Linked DNA regions of Homo sapiens: all the other regions are linked to region 3. The links are contacts of gene promoters, found by promoter capture Hi-C in human tissues and cell types (Jung and others, 2019). All regions are on one chromosome and are shown on one strand. The core of a region is centred on a gene start or on the middle of the fragment in contact, and the rest is flanking DNA. Distances in the headings are between cores, read along the strand shown.

Region 1 (3,517 bases), core at 166-2,665, 440 kb after region 3:
CTCGCCAAGCGTCTCTGTACCGGGTGGCAGAGGCCTTTCCAAGGGGGCTGCTGGGCCACCCTCACCTCACACCCACTGCAACCTCCACCTACCATGCGCTTCGGGGCCCTGCCTGCCCTCTCCGCCCACATGGTCCCCGCCCAGACCCACTCACAGGTGCTAGGGGGACCATTTGCCTCGGCAACTAGCAGCCACAGATGGGAATGCTGCCCTCATTCCTGACCCTGCCGGGCTCCGGGGTCTGGCCCATCAGGACGCAGACAGCCTGTAAGGCCACGACCCCCTCCCTCTCCCCCTCCGCCTGCCCTCCTGCGGACGAGGGGGGCTTTGTGACGACTGTGGCAGCCGTTGGGAAACAGGTGCTGTGGCTTACTCCCAAAACTGGGTCACCTGGCTTACCACGAAAGGGCACTCAAGGGGCCCCAGGACGGGCCCAGCCACCAGCCACCTTAGTTCTGTTGCCAAATGGTTCAGTCAGCCCCTGGGGCACCCAGCAGCGGCCCCTTGCCCAGACCGTGGACCACAGCACTGAGGCAGGGCCAAGGCCCCTCGAGTCACCGCCAGGTCCAGCCCCCTGTGGCTGCGAATCAGGTGACCCTTGGGCCAGTCAACGAAGGGTCCACCGAGGCACTGGAGGTGGCTCACAGCCCCCATGAGAAGAACAGATGGGACCTGCCTCCAGGGCCCCTGAGGCACCAACATGGTCCCCCAACAGACCTCAAAAGTGCCAGGACATGCAGCAAACAGACAGACCAGCCATCAGCAAGGAGAAGGTCTTCCAAAACCCCTGTGTGGGATGGGCTTGAGGAGCTAGCTGTGCACACACAGCCTCGGGAGTAAATCCCACCACCCGGGGCCCACGGCAGAGCAGCGCGGAGGGCAGGCAGAGGCCAGGTGTGCGGTCAGGGCCCTCCTGAAGAGGCCTGGCAGTGGGAGGCAGGGCACCTGAAAACCAGGGAGCTGGTGCGGCAGGGCCACAGTGACTGCGTGGGGGCCTCAGGCCTCTGGCTCCAGCCTGCAGGAGGGAGGGGGAGTGGCTCCGACAGCCCCCAGCCTCTGCCTTTGTCCGGCCCTATGCTACCCCGCCGCGATCTCCAGCTCCCAGCGAGCTCAGCCACAGGGCAGTACCGGCCGTGCCAGGGAGACGGCCCTGGCCCTGAGCAGGATGGAGCCTCCGGTACCCACACGATGGAACACGATTTAGCCATGAAAAGGAAGAAAGGCTGACCCCCGACAGTAAGAGGGGAGGAGGCTGGCGCAGGCTACGGCACGATGAGCTTTAAGAACCCTCCGTGCCACGTGAGCCACCAGGCACCAAAGGCCGGACACTGTGGGATTCCAGCTACGCAGAATGTCCATAACAGGCAAGTCTACGGAGGCCAATGGCAGGCTGGTGACTGGTGGGGCCAGGGGCCCAGGAGTGACTGCTGATTGAAAAATGCTCTAAAACGGACTGAGTGATGGACACACAGCTGCAAACACTCATAACCACTGGACTGTGCCCGTGAAATGGTGAACTGCTGGTGATGTGAATTATATCTCAAAAACGCTGTTAGCAAAAACCCACAGAGCCTCGAGGGCAGAAGGGAGCTCAAGCTCCTGGACCCCCAGCAGGCAGCTGAGCCCTCAGTGAACTGGCCTCAGTATCCCCATCCCCAGAACACCAAGCTGGGGACATTCCCAGGAAAGTCCCCCTTAAGACAAGCTCTCACACCTGGCCTCGGTGCTCAGGGCTGGCTCACACCTGCACTGTCCTGACCTGCTCGGAGGCGGCTATGGCCCTCCAGGCCGCAGGGGTGCCGTCCGCTGCTTGTCTTCAGAAAGCAAAGTAGCAAAACGTTCCACGGTGGGAGGAAGAAGAAAAACAGACACAGTGTCTACCAACATATACCTATTTCTCCTCCTCAACTCCCCATGCCCACTGCTCAGGTTCTGTTCACAGAAACAGCTTGAGGACGGCTCGCTGCAGCAGCCTCAGGCAGGAATACTAAGGCCACCATGATGGGCCCATCATAGAAAGACCCATGATGGCAGCTTACCCGGAGTGCAAAACGGAAAGGATCAAAAGACCCATCACAGCTTACCTGGAGTGAAAAACAGGATCAAAACAAAGGCTGGGGACACGGGAAGAGGTGGCTGGAGAGGGCAGGGCACCCTAGAGAACGGCCTGAGTTGCGTCCCTGCAACTGTGCACCAAGCATGCCTGAGTGGGAGGCTGCAAACAGCAGCGGGCACCCGAGGGACCCCCAGCTCCCCCGTATGGCTGTTTCCACAGACTCTCACTTATCCTTCTCATCTGCCCCTGGCCTAGTCCCGTCCTCTCCTTTGGGGCCGATCCAGCTCCACCAGGCGACCCCACACTGGAAATCTTCTGGCTTGGTCTGCAGGGTGTGGGCAGACCTGCTTGGCTTCCCTGCAGTTAAGCAGGGAGCGGGGGCACAGGCTCTGAGCAGGAACCGGCCTCCCAGTCCCAGGGCGAGGCCACAGCCACTCATGAGCACCCACATCCGGCACCAAGGAGACGGTCGCACACACACACGCAGACACACGCACACGGGCAGGTGTGTGCGGGGCTTGCCAAGGCTTGAAAACCTGACTGCCAGCAGGAAGGGTGCGGCCTGGAGGCCCGGGCTTCACCCACAGCCACACCTTGCCCACCCCAGGGTGCAGCCCAGAAGCTTCTACCTGGGTGACTGGCCAGGGGTTTTCCTGATGTTTCCTTTACACACGACTGGGCATCTTGTTTTGTGTTTCTTTCTCTTCTGTATCACTATGACCCCAGCAAGTGGGCGAGGGGTTTCTGGGTCTGGCCTGTGTCAGCCACCATCCAGGTTCTGGTGTACACACATCAGGCCGTGCCTGTCATCGGCCAGGCCTTCCTACGTCCCAGCCCACTCAGCACGCAGCACCGGTGACGCCGGCGGGACGGTGAGAGAAACAACACCGAAGCCGCTCCCTCGAGGAACCTGAAGTACCACCTTCCCTCGAGTGGCCAGCCCTGCAGGCGGAGGCCACGACCGCTTAGAGGAACAAACTGGGACCGGACTCCCGGGCAGGGATGGGGAGAACAGAGGGGAGGACTCCATTTAGGTTTCTGCTCCTTCAGCCAAGAACCTTTCAGTGACCCTGGGAGGCTGCAAGAGCAGGACAGAGCCCCACAGGTGAGCCGACCATCCCACCGGCCTGGGGGCGTCAGGCCCACCGCTCCCGAGGTCTACCAGGGACACACAGCCTGCCTCTGTCTGATCGCACCTGGGGGGCTGCTGTCCACTCCCTGTGGACGAGGGGGGCCGAGGGGTGAGCAGTCCCAAGGTGGCAGGAGAGGCACCACAGCGGGGGTGGCGGGCCTACCTGCAGCTCCTTGTCCGAGTACTTCTGAGGATTCTTGCTGCCCTGGCTCTTCTTCCGAAGCTTCTTCAGCTCAGCCTGACACTTGTCCAGGGCGTCGCCTTTGCTCCTTTGCTCAGTCTGGTATTTCTTCAGCGCAGCCTGAGATTCAAACAATAAAACACAAAAC
Region 2 (3,607 bases), core at 128-2,627, 360 kb after region 3:
AGGAAAAGAAGGGTGGGTCCTGGTGCCCATCTGCCCCGTGGCCCAAGCATCCTGTCCTGGTCTCTGCAGGTCCCTCTGCCGGGAACAGGCTCCTTTCTCTCCCTAAAGTCCTAAGAGCCCTGTTGGAGTGGGCGCCTCTCACCTGCTCCACAGCCCCCAACCCCAACTGGGCCTTGCCAAGGGGCTTAGCCATCTGGTCCCAGAATGAGTGAGTGAATGAATGAGTGAGTGAATGAATGAGTGAGTGAATGAATGAGTGGATGAGGGTGCATCAAACTCAACTGCAAGTCTCCAGGACACTTTTTTTGAGACAAGATCTTGTTGTCACCCGGGCTGGAGTGCAGTGGTGCCATCTTGGCTCACTGCGGCCTCTAACTCCCAGGCTCAAGTGATCCTCCCACCTCAGCCTCCCAAGTAGCTGAGACTACAGGTGAGCGCCACCATGCCTGGCTCATTTTTCTAATTTTTGTAGAGAAAGTGTCTTGCTATGTTGCCCAGGCTGGTCTGGAACCCCTGAGCACAAGCCACCCGCCTGCCCTGGCCTCCCAAAGTGCTGGGATTACAGGCATGAGCCACTGGGACCAGCTTCCACTGAACTTTAACTCTCCCGACTCCCACGGGGGCAGGCTGGGGGGACCCTGCCCCGCCCCAACCCTGCAAGGTGGCACTTTGGGCGGGGATGGGGGATCCTGGGAGAAACATAGGGGAAGGGATGGCCCCTCAGCGCCCAGGCCAACCTGCTGCCCTAAGCACCTGGTACAGTCCACGGCAGGTGGAGACTCAGCCAGGTTCTTCCTTCATGGCTGTCGCAGCACGGTACAGGAGCAGGCCTGTGTGCAAAGCCAGCCACCCCCACTCCACCAGCACAGGTGCCACCCAAAGGGCATGGGGTGGGGGGGCGGCTGCCAGCCGCCTCGAAACCTGCAAGTGAGGCGAGGGCCCCTGAGCACCAAGACCCGCCCTGGGTGTGCTCCCGGGTTCCCCCACCTGTCTCCCTGAACCTTTCCACCTAGGAGTACCCCCTCCCCCACCCCGGCGTTCCCTCCGTACCCACTCACGACTTACCATTCACGACTTCCGTTTCCCCCCCCCCCGCCAGCCTCCGTGCCCCCCTCAGCCCCAGGCCGCCGTGCTTCCCGCTCCGGACCATCCCCCCACTCCGTGCCATCCCCGCTCCGTGCACGGCCCCCCGTCCCCCCTCCTCCATGCCTCCCCTCCGTGTCCCCCCTCCAAGCCCCCTTCTGTGTCCCCCACTCCGTGCTCCCCTCTGTCTCCCCCTCCGTGTCCCCCTCTCCGTGCTCCCCCCATGCCACCCCGGCCGCGGAGGGCCCCCCCCTCCCCCGCGCCGCTCCGCGCGCGCTCCCGCCCGCGTTTTCGGACTGCACCAGCGGAGCCCCGCGGCGCCAGGGCCGGGCGGAGCGCCTCGTCTGTCGCCGCCGCCCCCACCGGTGCGGGCTCTGCGGCTGCGGCGGGGGGCGCGGGGCGCGGGGGCCGGCGCGCTCCGCACCTGCGGCGGCCGCTGGGTGATGCGGCGGCTCGGGCCGGGGCCGCGGGCGTCCTGAGCGCAGCGCCCTCCCGGGATGCCCGCCGGCCGCTGGCCCGGCCATGTCGTCGTCCTTCTTCAACCCCAGCTTCGCCTTCAGCTCGCACTTCGACCCCGGTGAGTCCCTGGCGGCCCGGCCTGCGCGCCGCTGCCTCCCTCCGCTGCGGACGTGATGCCCCTGGGCCCCACGGCTCCCGGTTTGCATGGAAATTAACCCTTTCCCCGCCCCGAGCCCAGCAGCAGAAGCAGCCGGACCCCCTGGCGGCCCCAGATCTCGGAGGGGCAGGCCCTGGGCCCCAGCACAAACCGGCCTCCGCCTGTGGGCTGGCGTCCCCCGCGTGGTCGTGACTCCGTGGCTGCCTCCAGGGCACAGGTAACTGGGGCACGGAGGGCCTGCGTGGGCCCCTGGTGTCCAGGAGAGTTGGTCTCAGACTAAGGGCCCTTGGGGGTGTGGGGGGTGTCAGCCAGCTGGGGTTCAGGCTTTCCATGGCCTCTCCTGGGTCCGGGGCCCTGGCGTGGGAGGCTTCTTCCCAGGCTGGGAGCGATTCTCAGAGCCCTGCCCAGCCACCAGCAGCCGGCGGGGGATGTGGGGGGAGCAGGGGCCAGTCCACATTACAGAGCCCAGTGGGCAGAGGCTCAGAAGAGAGGGGCCTTGGTGGGTGCCCAGATCCCCTGACAGTGGGGGCCCGAGGTGACGCTGTCAAGCTGGCTGCAGGGGACCTGAGGCCAGGCCTCTTACCCCGTATGGCCAGTGCACCGGGCAGGGCGAGATTACCCATGGCTGCCTGGCCTCCTGGCTGTGGTGGACAGCTGGGATAGGCAGAGGGGGCTGGGGACAGCTGGAAGCCCCATCTGTCACCAGGAAGCAGTGGGCTTTCTAAAACCTCTGCTTCTCCAGATCCGGCCCCTGCTTGGCCTGAGTGGGAGATAATCCCCCTGCCCTGTGCCATCCATGGCCCCAGGGCCAAGTCCCACCCACACGTCACTGGGGCTCTGGCACCAGGCTGAGCCAGCCCAAACAAAGCCTGTTTGCATGTGACGTGATCTCCTGTGTCTCCTTCCCTGGAGCAGGGCCCAGTGCACGCAGCCTGGCAGGGAGGCACGGGGGTCCCCGGGGCAGATCTCGGTCTGAAGGCATTTGCTCCCTGGAGGAAGGGAGCTGGTGGGAGGTCTGTCTGCTGGGCTTAGGGCTGTGGGTGTCACTTGCTCAGAAATGACTTCCTGTAGTGACCCCTGGGGCTCGGAAGTCCCTGTGGGGTGGGCAGGTGAAGGCTCAGAGCCCAACAGCCACGGCAACAGCTGTAATGTCTCCCCGGCCCAAGGGCAGGGGGTGGAGGAGGCTTGGGGCAGGTCCTCATCACATCTCCATGCCAGGCGTGGCCCACGGTGCTTGGTCCTTTCTGCCCCCAGAACAGAGAGGACCCTCGGCCCATACCCTGCCTCGGGGCCCAGCCTTGTCCTTGGCCATGAGAGGCCCTTTCCCCCGCCTTCGAGCAGCACCGGCTCTGCCCTTCTCTGGGTAAACAGCTGTGATCTGAATAATTCTAATGTGTCCGTTTAATGACTTAGAGGAAAAGAAGTTGTTGGAGGCAAGGGGCGTCTCTCCTCTGCAAGATGCTGGGCCAGAGCTGCAGGCACCTGCTGGGCTCTGGGGCCCACCTACCAGGAGGGGCTGCCCAAGGTGCTGGTGCTGGTGAGGAAGGAGACCCTCCTTCGGATTAAGGGGCTGGGTCTAGGCTCTGCACCAGCCCCCATGAGAGGGTTAGGGAGGAGAGAGGGGTCTCCTGCCCTCCCGCTAAACTTAGCCCAGCCTTCCAAGCCTGGCTGTCCTGTGCTGCAGTCCCTCTGCCTGGCCTTGCCTCTGTGAACCTCGGTTTTCCCATCTATGACATGGGCCGACAGTACCTGTGGCAGGCCCGGGTGGGCTCAGTGCTTGGTGAGCACTTGGCTGTCTGTGCTGGAGTGGTGGTGCTGGGACAGAGACCCCCAGGGCCCAAGCTTCCTACAGCATGTGGCTGGCTCCTTGCCATCCCCGAATTGGAGCGAGCTGGTTCCTTCTGAGGC
Region 3 (3,536 bases), core at 629-3,128:
CACTGGAGCTGACCTTAAGCCCCCCCACTCCTGAGGACACGAGGCTCCACTGGTCAGGCACGTGGTGGTGCTATCCCCGCCCGATCCCCAGCTCCCTGCCCTACCCTGGGCTCCTCCCCAATTTCCTTTAAAGTCCAGAAAATGCAGCCGGGCACGGTGGCTCACGCCTGTAATCCCAGCACTTTGGGAGGCCGAGGTGGACAGATCACAAGGTCAGGAGATCAAGACCATCCTGGCTAACACAGTGAAACCCCGTCTCTTCTAAAAAATACAAAAAATTAGCCGGGCGTGGTGGCGGGCGCCTGTAGTCCCAGCTACTCGGGAGGCTGAGGCAGGAGAATGGCGTGAACCCGTGAGGCGGCGCTTGCAGTGAGCCGAGATCACGCCACTGCGCTCCAGCCTGGGTGACAGAGCGAGACTCTGTCTCAAAAAATAAATAAATAAATGAAGTCCAGAAAATGGGGTGGAGAAAAAGAAGGGGAGATATGGACCCCCCACAGCCTCCTGCCCACATGCCCCTCATGGCACCAGGCCAGGCTGTGGGCCTCCTGCCCCTGCTGGGCACTGCCCATCGCCTGGCCCACACCTCTCCAGTCTCAGACTCCGCAGCTGCCCAGGGCTTGGCTGAGACATTCTCCAGCTATGCTGAGAAAGGCCAGGAACCCTTGCCTCTGACCCTGAAGCCACCACCCCTCAGTGGGGGTCGCCTGGGCATGGCCCGAGGCCCACCCACCTACACCCTGAGTGGCCACACATGTCCCACATGGACCCCCAGCCCAGAACAGACATGTGAACGCACAGACACGATACCACTCCCCGTGAGACCCCCACGGCCTCCTCCCTGAAGCAGGGGGGTCCCAGCACCCCTCAGGAGGTCGCCACCTGTGCCCTCCCTACCTTGCCGCACAGAGACGTAGCGGTGGTTGGCAGCCACCAGCACCACCTGTGGGTGACTCTCCTCCAGATCAAAGAGCTCATCCTTGCCAGGTCGCGTGTTTCGGCCGGCCTTGAGGGTGCCTGCGGGCCCCACGGGTGCCAGGTAGTGGCCGTCGCAGTCCTTGAAGGCCAGCTTGCCCGCCTTGAACTCCAGCGTGTAGCAGGCACGGGGCTCAGGCTCCCAGACCAGACGGCCGTCGCTGCGCAGGTAGCGGCTGTCACAGGACTTGAGGCAGTACCGTCGGCTCCGGAAGATGAGGGTGAGGAGGGCGTCCACGCCCCAGGGCTTGTCTCCGTCTGCGGCCATCTCGTCCTCCCGCGGGCACAGGTGCACGTAGCGCCGCCGGCTCACGCTCAGCAGGTGGGCCTGCGGGTGGATGGCCAGGTGCACGGTCCACAGCTCGGCCGGGGAAACGGCTGTGGCGAAGCAGGACAGCTGGTCCTCGGTGCCTCCGAAGAAGCGGCCGTGCGGCTCGGACCGCAGCACCCAGCGCCCATCTGGCTGCGGCAGGACCAGGAAGCGGCAGTCACGGCCCGGCTGCTCTGCCTCACAGGCCACGCGCCCGTCCTCTTCTGCCGACAGGTAGCGGCCCAGGTGGCTGCTGCGGAGCAGCACAGCCGTGCCTTGTCCTGGGTCGGGTTCCAGCACCCAGGTCTGCTTCCTCTTGAGGCTGGGTGCCGAGGCATTGACCTTGAAGCCGAAGCTCTCAGCTGTCAGGTAGCGGTCAGTGTCGTTGACGAGGCCAAACTGGATCTTCAGCACCTGGTGCAGGCCGTTCGTCGGCATCTTCAGGCTGGCCGGGTCCCCGGAGGGGCCTGGGATGCGCCCTCTGAGTGCTCACGGCCCCCGCGGTCCCCCAGAAGCCCGGGTCGGCTCGGCTGGCCCACAGCCCCCAGACCCAGCCGGCGTCACGAACCCCCTGCCTGCTCTGACCCGCCTCTGACCCGCGGCAGCAGCCTGGGCAGCTCTTAGAGGGCCCGCGGGCAGCAGAGGGCGGGCGGGGAGGGCGGATCAGAGACGTGCGGCTTAGGAGCAGCACCTTTCATTACCCTCAGCTTGGATTTCAGCCACTCCCGGATTGCACAGAGCCCAGAGCCCGAGGGCCTGAGGGCCTACGGGGCTGGAGGGCAGGGTTGATCCCCTTTTCCTCATAGCGTGGGCCCAGCGCCCCTCTTCACGGCCCTGCACCTTTTGGCCTCTCTCGTTCCTGCCCCCCTCCTCCAACCCCGTGTGGGCTCCCGGCCCGGCCCGGCCCAGCCCTTCCGGATGTAGAAGCCGTCCAGTGGAACGCTCACGGCTCGGCCGCAACCTGATCGCCGCCCGTACCCTCGGTGGCCGCCAGGCCCTCAGCTGGATCCAGTTACTGCTTCTCTGATTCCTGCTGCCAGAAGCATAGCAAGGACCCCAGCCACAACCTGCAGCCCAGGTCGCCTCCACCCCAGACCGGCCTCTGGCCACACTGCTCAGGCCCCAGAATGACGCACTGGACTGCCACCCACGCTGGAGGGTGGAACACAGTGGCCGTGCAGCCCTGCAGGCAGGGGGCAGAGTCAGAGGCCCTGGGCCAGGCTGGCCCGGCCCCAGCGCACTCCTGTGCGCTCTGAGCAAGTTGCTGGGCCCTGAGGCTGCCCCCTCCTCTGCTGTGAGCTGGAGTGAAGCCAGCCTCACTTCACTTTGGAGTCTTTACGGATGTGGATCCAGGAGGCTGGTGGGACGATGTCCACCCCATGCTCCCAGCGGTGGCCCTTGGAATCTGGGAGAGGATGAAGGCCAGCAGGCCGGGAGAGACTGGAAGTGGTCACACCTGTCTACAGCACCTCCTTGCTCTGGGCCACCTGGCTGTACCCCTTCCCCAGAGCCTGAGGGGCACTGGGCCCTGCTCACCGTGCCTGGCTCCTGCACCTGCCTCAGGGGCTTGGGGCCAAGTAGTGAAACCAGAGCTGGCCACCCTGGGCCAGGGCCAGCCCGGTGTCCTCTTCCTCATAACAGCGTGTGACCCTCCCGTCTCCCTGGGGACTGGGAACAGGGGCCACAGGCCCCTTCCGGTCATGGCCTGGAGTCACTCCCCTGTCCTCCTGGGCCCATCTCCTGAGTGGCCATCATGGGGGTCCCCGTAGGGCAGGAGTCTAGCCAAAAGCAAGGGGCCTGGGCTGGGCACCTGTGGGCTCCAGAGGTGGGCAGGGCCATGGTGGCAGAGTGTGCACAGACTCAGGGGCTCTTCCTCTGTCCTCTAAGCCCTGGACAGCAACCGTGCCAGGCACCTGCAGACACAGGGGAGGAAAAAGAGGAGACCTGTCCCCACTGTCCCCACGCTCAGGGGCCAGGGTGGGGGCAGAGAGACTCCCACATGCAAATACCCCCCAGGGCACAGCGTACGCCACGACGCCAGGGCCTGCTCTCGCCTCTCCCTGTGTGCTGGCCTCATCCGCCTCTATGATTCACACGCATTTATGAGGCACCAACTGTGTGCGAAACCAGGTCACGTGCCAGGCACCATCCTGGGGAGACGCAGTCTGGGGTTTCACCCCCTTCCCAGAGACGATGCCCACACACACTCTCCCACAGTTTCCAGGGGACTGAGGACACAGGCCTAGCACCG
Region 4 (3,429 bases), core at 598-3,097, 260 kb after region 3:
CCCCGCAGTTTGGGAGGCCGAGGCGGGCGGATCACGAGGTCAGGAGATCGAAACCATCCTGGCTAACACGGTGAAACCCCGTCTCTACTAAAAATACAAAAAAATTAGCCGGGCGTGGTGGCGGGTGCCTGTAGTCCCAGCTACTTGGGAGGCTGAGGCAGGAGAATGGCGTGAACCTGGGAGGCGAAGCTTGCAGTGAGCTGAGATCGCTCCACTACACTCCAGCCAAAAAAAAAAAAAAAAAAAAAATCTGTCAGCTTGATGGAACAGCAGGCACCCATTGACACCTGGGCAGAGAGAGACTGCAGTGCCGGGACACAGGCTCAATTTGTAGAACCAACTATTCTAGAACAGCGCATGCTGTCCTGTTGATTCTTTTGACTTCTGATTTTGGTGATGCATTACCAAGGGAAGCGTTGAAGGCTCTGAACATATTTATGTTACCCAAATGCACCCACTCCCTAGCAGACAAGACAGAGCTCGTTGTCATCAGAGGATGACATCACAGGGGAACTCGCACGCACTCTCCCCAGGGAACAGCCCTAGAGGCGATCTGTCTGGGCTCCTGGCAGGGGCTGCAGCCTGGCAGCACCCGCCAGGCCCTGGCCTCTACACCTGCCCTAGGATAGGTCCTGCCTTCCTAGGGCCACTCATGGAGCAGCAGGCAGGAGAGGCGGCGCAGGAGCCGTGCCGTGCGCAGCCAGCATCTGGTTTCGGCAGGAGGTCCCTAGTGTCTGACTCTTTAAAGATGAACCATCAGAGAATTCACCCCGGGGCCTAAATGCACTGTTGGAGGAATCAGCCGCGGTTGTCAGGCTTTCTGGGCACAGAGGGCGTCTCTGCTCCCGGCTCACGCCTAGACGGCATTTCCTTCAATGCTGGCTTGCTCACCCGTGTGCAGGGCAAAAGCTCAGGTCCCCTCCTTCCCAGAGCCCTTCCCCACTCATCCCTTCCTGTCACTTCTCCATCCTAGTGGAGACCATCCTGGGCCTCACAGGAGCGACCATGGGAAGCCTCATCTGCTTCATCTGCCCGGCGCTGATCTACAAGAAAATCCACAAGAACGCACTTTCCTCCCAGGTGCGTGCTGCTCGTGGGGTGGCCTGGACGAGGGCTGATGGGTCTGGGCTGGGGAGAGGTGGAGGCGGGAGGAAGCCCCTGGTTCAGCGTTTTCAGATGGGTTCTATCAAGAAACTTAAAACCCACAAAAGGGACTTGGTCCAGTCAGCCTGGGGAACCCTGGGTTCACCAGGACGCACGGTCTTTGCCCAGCAGGGCCACACTAAGCTGCTCAAGCTGTGCATCGGGTTTTCCTGAGAGCCGACTTAGCTGAGTCGTAAGCGCTTTCCCCATGGTGTTTCTGCGATGCCTGATTGCCCATGGACCTGCTGCCACCTCTGAGTCCCCTCCCCAGCCGCCCACCCCTGAGGCCACCACCCACCGTTGTTCCTGGTGCGACCCTCCCACGGAGATGTGCGTGCTTGTGGGTTTTTCTTTAACTGTAACACAGCTTCCTGCTGCTTTTGCTCAAAACCCTGTGCAGGTCAGGTTGCTCCACAGCCGTGGGCACAGAGCTGCCTCGCTATTTTTAGCCGTTTCATGGGTTCCGTGGTAGGAAGATTCCATAATCCCAGTCTCCGAAGGACTCACCTCTCCAGTCTTGCTATTGCAGACAGAATCGCGATGAATATCTGTGTTCATGAGCATGTCGACGTATTTGAGCACGCGTCTGTAGGAAGCCTTCTAGAAATGGAATCCTGTGTCAGGGGTGTGAGCATCTGTAAATGTGGTGGCTCTACCCAAAGTGCCTGCAGCGTCACTCCCAGCCAGGCTCAAGGCCTCTGTCCCTGCACCCAGGACCTTCCAGGCTTCATCATTCTTGGCCTCTCTGGCGGGAACTTGAGTGTCTTTTCATGGGTTTAGAAGCCACTTGCGTTTCTTTTTCTGTGAACTGCTTGTGTTCTTTGCTCACTTTTTATGGAGTTGTTGAGCTTTTTCTTACTGGAATATATTGATAATTTTTTTTTTCTTTTGAGACAGAGTTTCACTCTTGTTGCCCAAGCTGGGGTGCAGTGGCGCAGTCTCGGCTTACTGCAACCTCCGCCTCCCAGGTTCAAGTGATTCTCCTGCCTCAGCCTCCTGAGTAGCCACCACGCCGGGCTAATTTTGTATTTTTAGTGAGACGGGGTTTCTCCGTGTTGGTCACGCTGGTCTTGAACTCTTGACCTCAGGTGATCCACCCGCCTCCACCTCCCAAAGTGCTGTGATTACAGGTGTGAGCCAATGCGCCCGGCCTCAACCTGATAAGTTTTTACAAAGTGAACCACGTGGAACCACCATCCAGAGCAGACATAGGACATCCCGGCACCCCAGAGCTCCCTATGGATGCCTCACTGACATCCACCCCCACCCCAAAGGTCCTCCGGCATTCTGGAATGATCTTGCCTTGTCTTCAAGTTGCGGTAAATAGATTCTTACAGTGTACATTAGAATACACGTCCACGTGTGTCAGCCACTTCTTCAGCATCTTGGCTCAGGTCCACTGCAACTTCTGCCTCCTGGGTTCAAGCAATTCTCCTGCCTCAGCCTCCTGAGTAGCTGGGATTCCAGGTGTGTGCCACCACACCCAGCTAATTTTTGTACTTTTAGTAGAGACAGGGTTTTACCATGTTGGTCAGGCTGGTCTCAAATCCTGACCTCAAATAATCCACCCGCCTCAGCCTCCCAAAGTGCTGGGATTATAGACGTGAGCCACTACACCCAGCCCCTTATGGATTTTTTAATCATCTTGTTTATGAGTTGTGAGAAAGGTATGATAATTCCTACTGTAACTGCAGATTTGTTTATTTTTCCTTTTAGTTCCATCACTTTTTGCTTTTTAGTTTGAAGCCATGTTATTAGGAGCAGACAGATTGAAGTTGGTTATATCTCCTTGTTGAATTGTCTTTTATCGTGTTAAATACTCCTTTTTATCATTGGAAATACTTTTCTCCTTAAAGTTGGCTTTGTAGCTAACTTAGTTCTGCTTTGGGTTTGTATTTGCACAGGATAGCTTGTTTCATCCCTTTTCTTTTGATTTCTCTAGTCCATTATATTCATGGTATGTCTCTTATAACAGCATGCAGTTGACTTTTGTCTTGTTCTTATTCAGTCTGTGAATGGGAGTATTTAAGACTATTTACAGTTAATATAATAACTGATTTTTGAGGGAAAACTTTCAACTTATGTCCTATTATTTGTCTCATATGTCCTTTTTCTGTTTTTGCTTTTACTTTCTTTGGATCAATCAAACATTTTAAATATTTACTCTTTTTTTGGCTTGTTGGTACATTTCTATTCTTCTAATGATTATACTAGGCAGTTGATATCAACCCTTATTTAAAACTCCACAAGACATTGTTATTGTTGTTTCAAATAGTAATTATTGAG

What was found. The method cuts DNA at HindIII sites, captures the fragments that hold promoters and counts their contacts. A contact is called where the count stands out against the background at its distance.
Region 1: a contact is called between a fragment that was not itself captured here and the fragment with the promoter of FSCN2 in region 3, in 1 of the 25 tissues and cell types used here (mesendoderm cells).
Region 2: a contact is called between the fragment with the promoter of AATK here and the fragment with the promoter of FSCN2 in region 3, in 4 of the 25 tissues and cell types used here (bladder, dorsolateral prefrontal cortex, lymphoblastoid cells and 1 more).
Region 4: a contact is called between a fragment that was not itself captured here and the fragment with the promoter of FSCN2 in region 3, in 3 of the 25 tissues and cell types used here (dorsolateral prefrontal cortex, mesenchymal stem cells and mesendoderm cells).

Annotation. Positions count from the first base shown.
Region 1 is chr17:81,086,415-81,089,931 of GRCh38, reverse strand. It overlaps BAIAP2 (BAR/IMD domain containing adaptor protein 2), which reads right to left. Exons shown (of 14, transcript NM_001144888.2): 6 at 3,352-3,489. Among named protein-coding and RNA genes, the nearest start is that of MIR657, 37 kb to the left of the region's middle. RefSeq lists an enhancer at 1-201. The HindIII fragment of the contact is 9,149 bases long and covers 1-3,517 here.
Region 2 is chr17:81,163,991-81,167,597 of GRCh38, reverse strand. AATK (apoptosis associated tyrosine kinase) reads left to right here and starts at 1,377. Exons shown (of 14, transcript NM_001080395.3): 1 at 1,377-1,660. The coding sequence starts at 1,606. It overlaps PVALEF (parvalbumin like EF-hand containing), which reads right to left and starts at 2,091. Exons shown (of 7, transcript NM_001354639.2): 1 at 1,851-2,091; 2 at 754-921. RefSeq lists enhancers at 1,836-2,579, 2,580-3,323. The HindIII fragment of the contact is 13,495 bases long and covers 1-3,607 here.
Region 3 is chr17:81,526,719-81,530,254 of GRCh38, reverse strand. It overlaps FSCN2 (fascin actin-bundling protein 2, retinal), which reads right to left and starts at 1,878. Exons shown (of 5, transcript NM_012418.4): 1 at 898-1,878. The coding sequence starts at 1,723. RefSeq lists enhancers at 904-1,429, 1,430-1,956. The HindIII fragment of the contact is 15,570 bases long and covers 1-3,536 here.
Region 4 is chr17:81,268,569-81,271,997 of GRCh38, reverse strand. SLC38A10 (solute carrier family 38 member 10) reads left to right here. Exons shown (of 16, transcript NM_001037984.3): 10 at 974-1,080. Among named protein-coding and RNA genes, the nearest start is that of SLC38A10, 25 kb to the left of the region's middle. The HindIII fragment of the contact is 5,517 bases long and covers 1-3,429 here.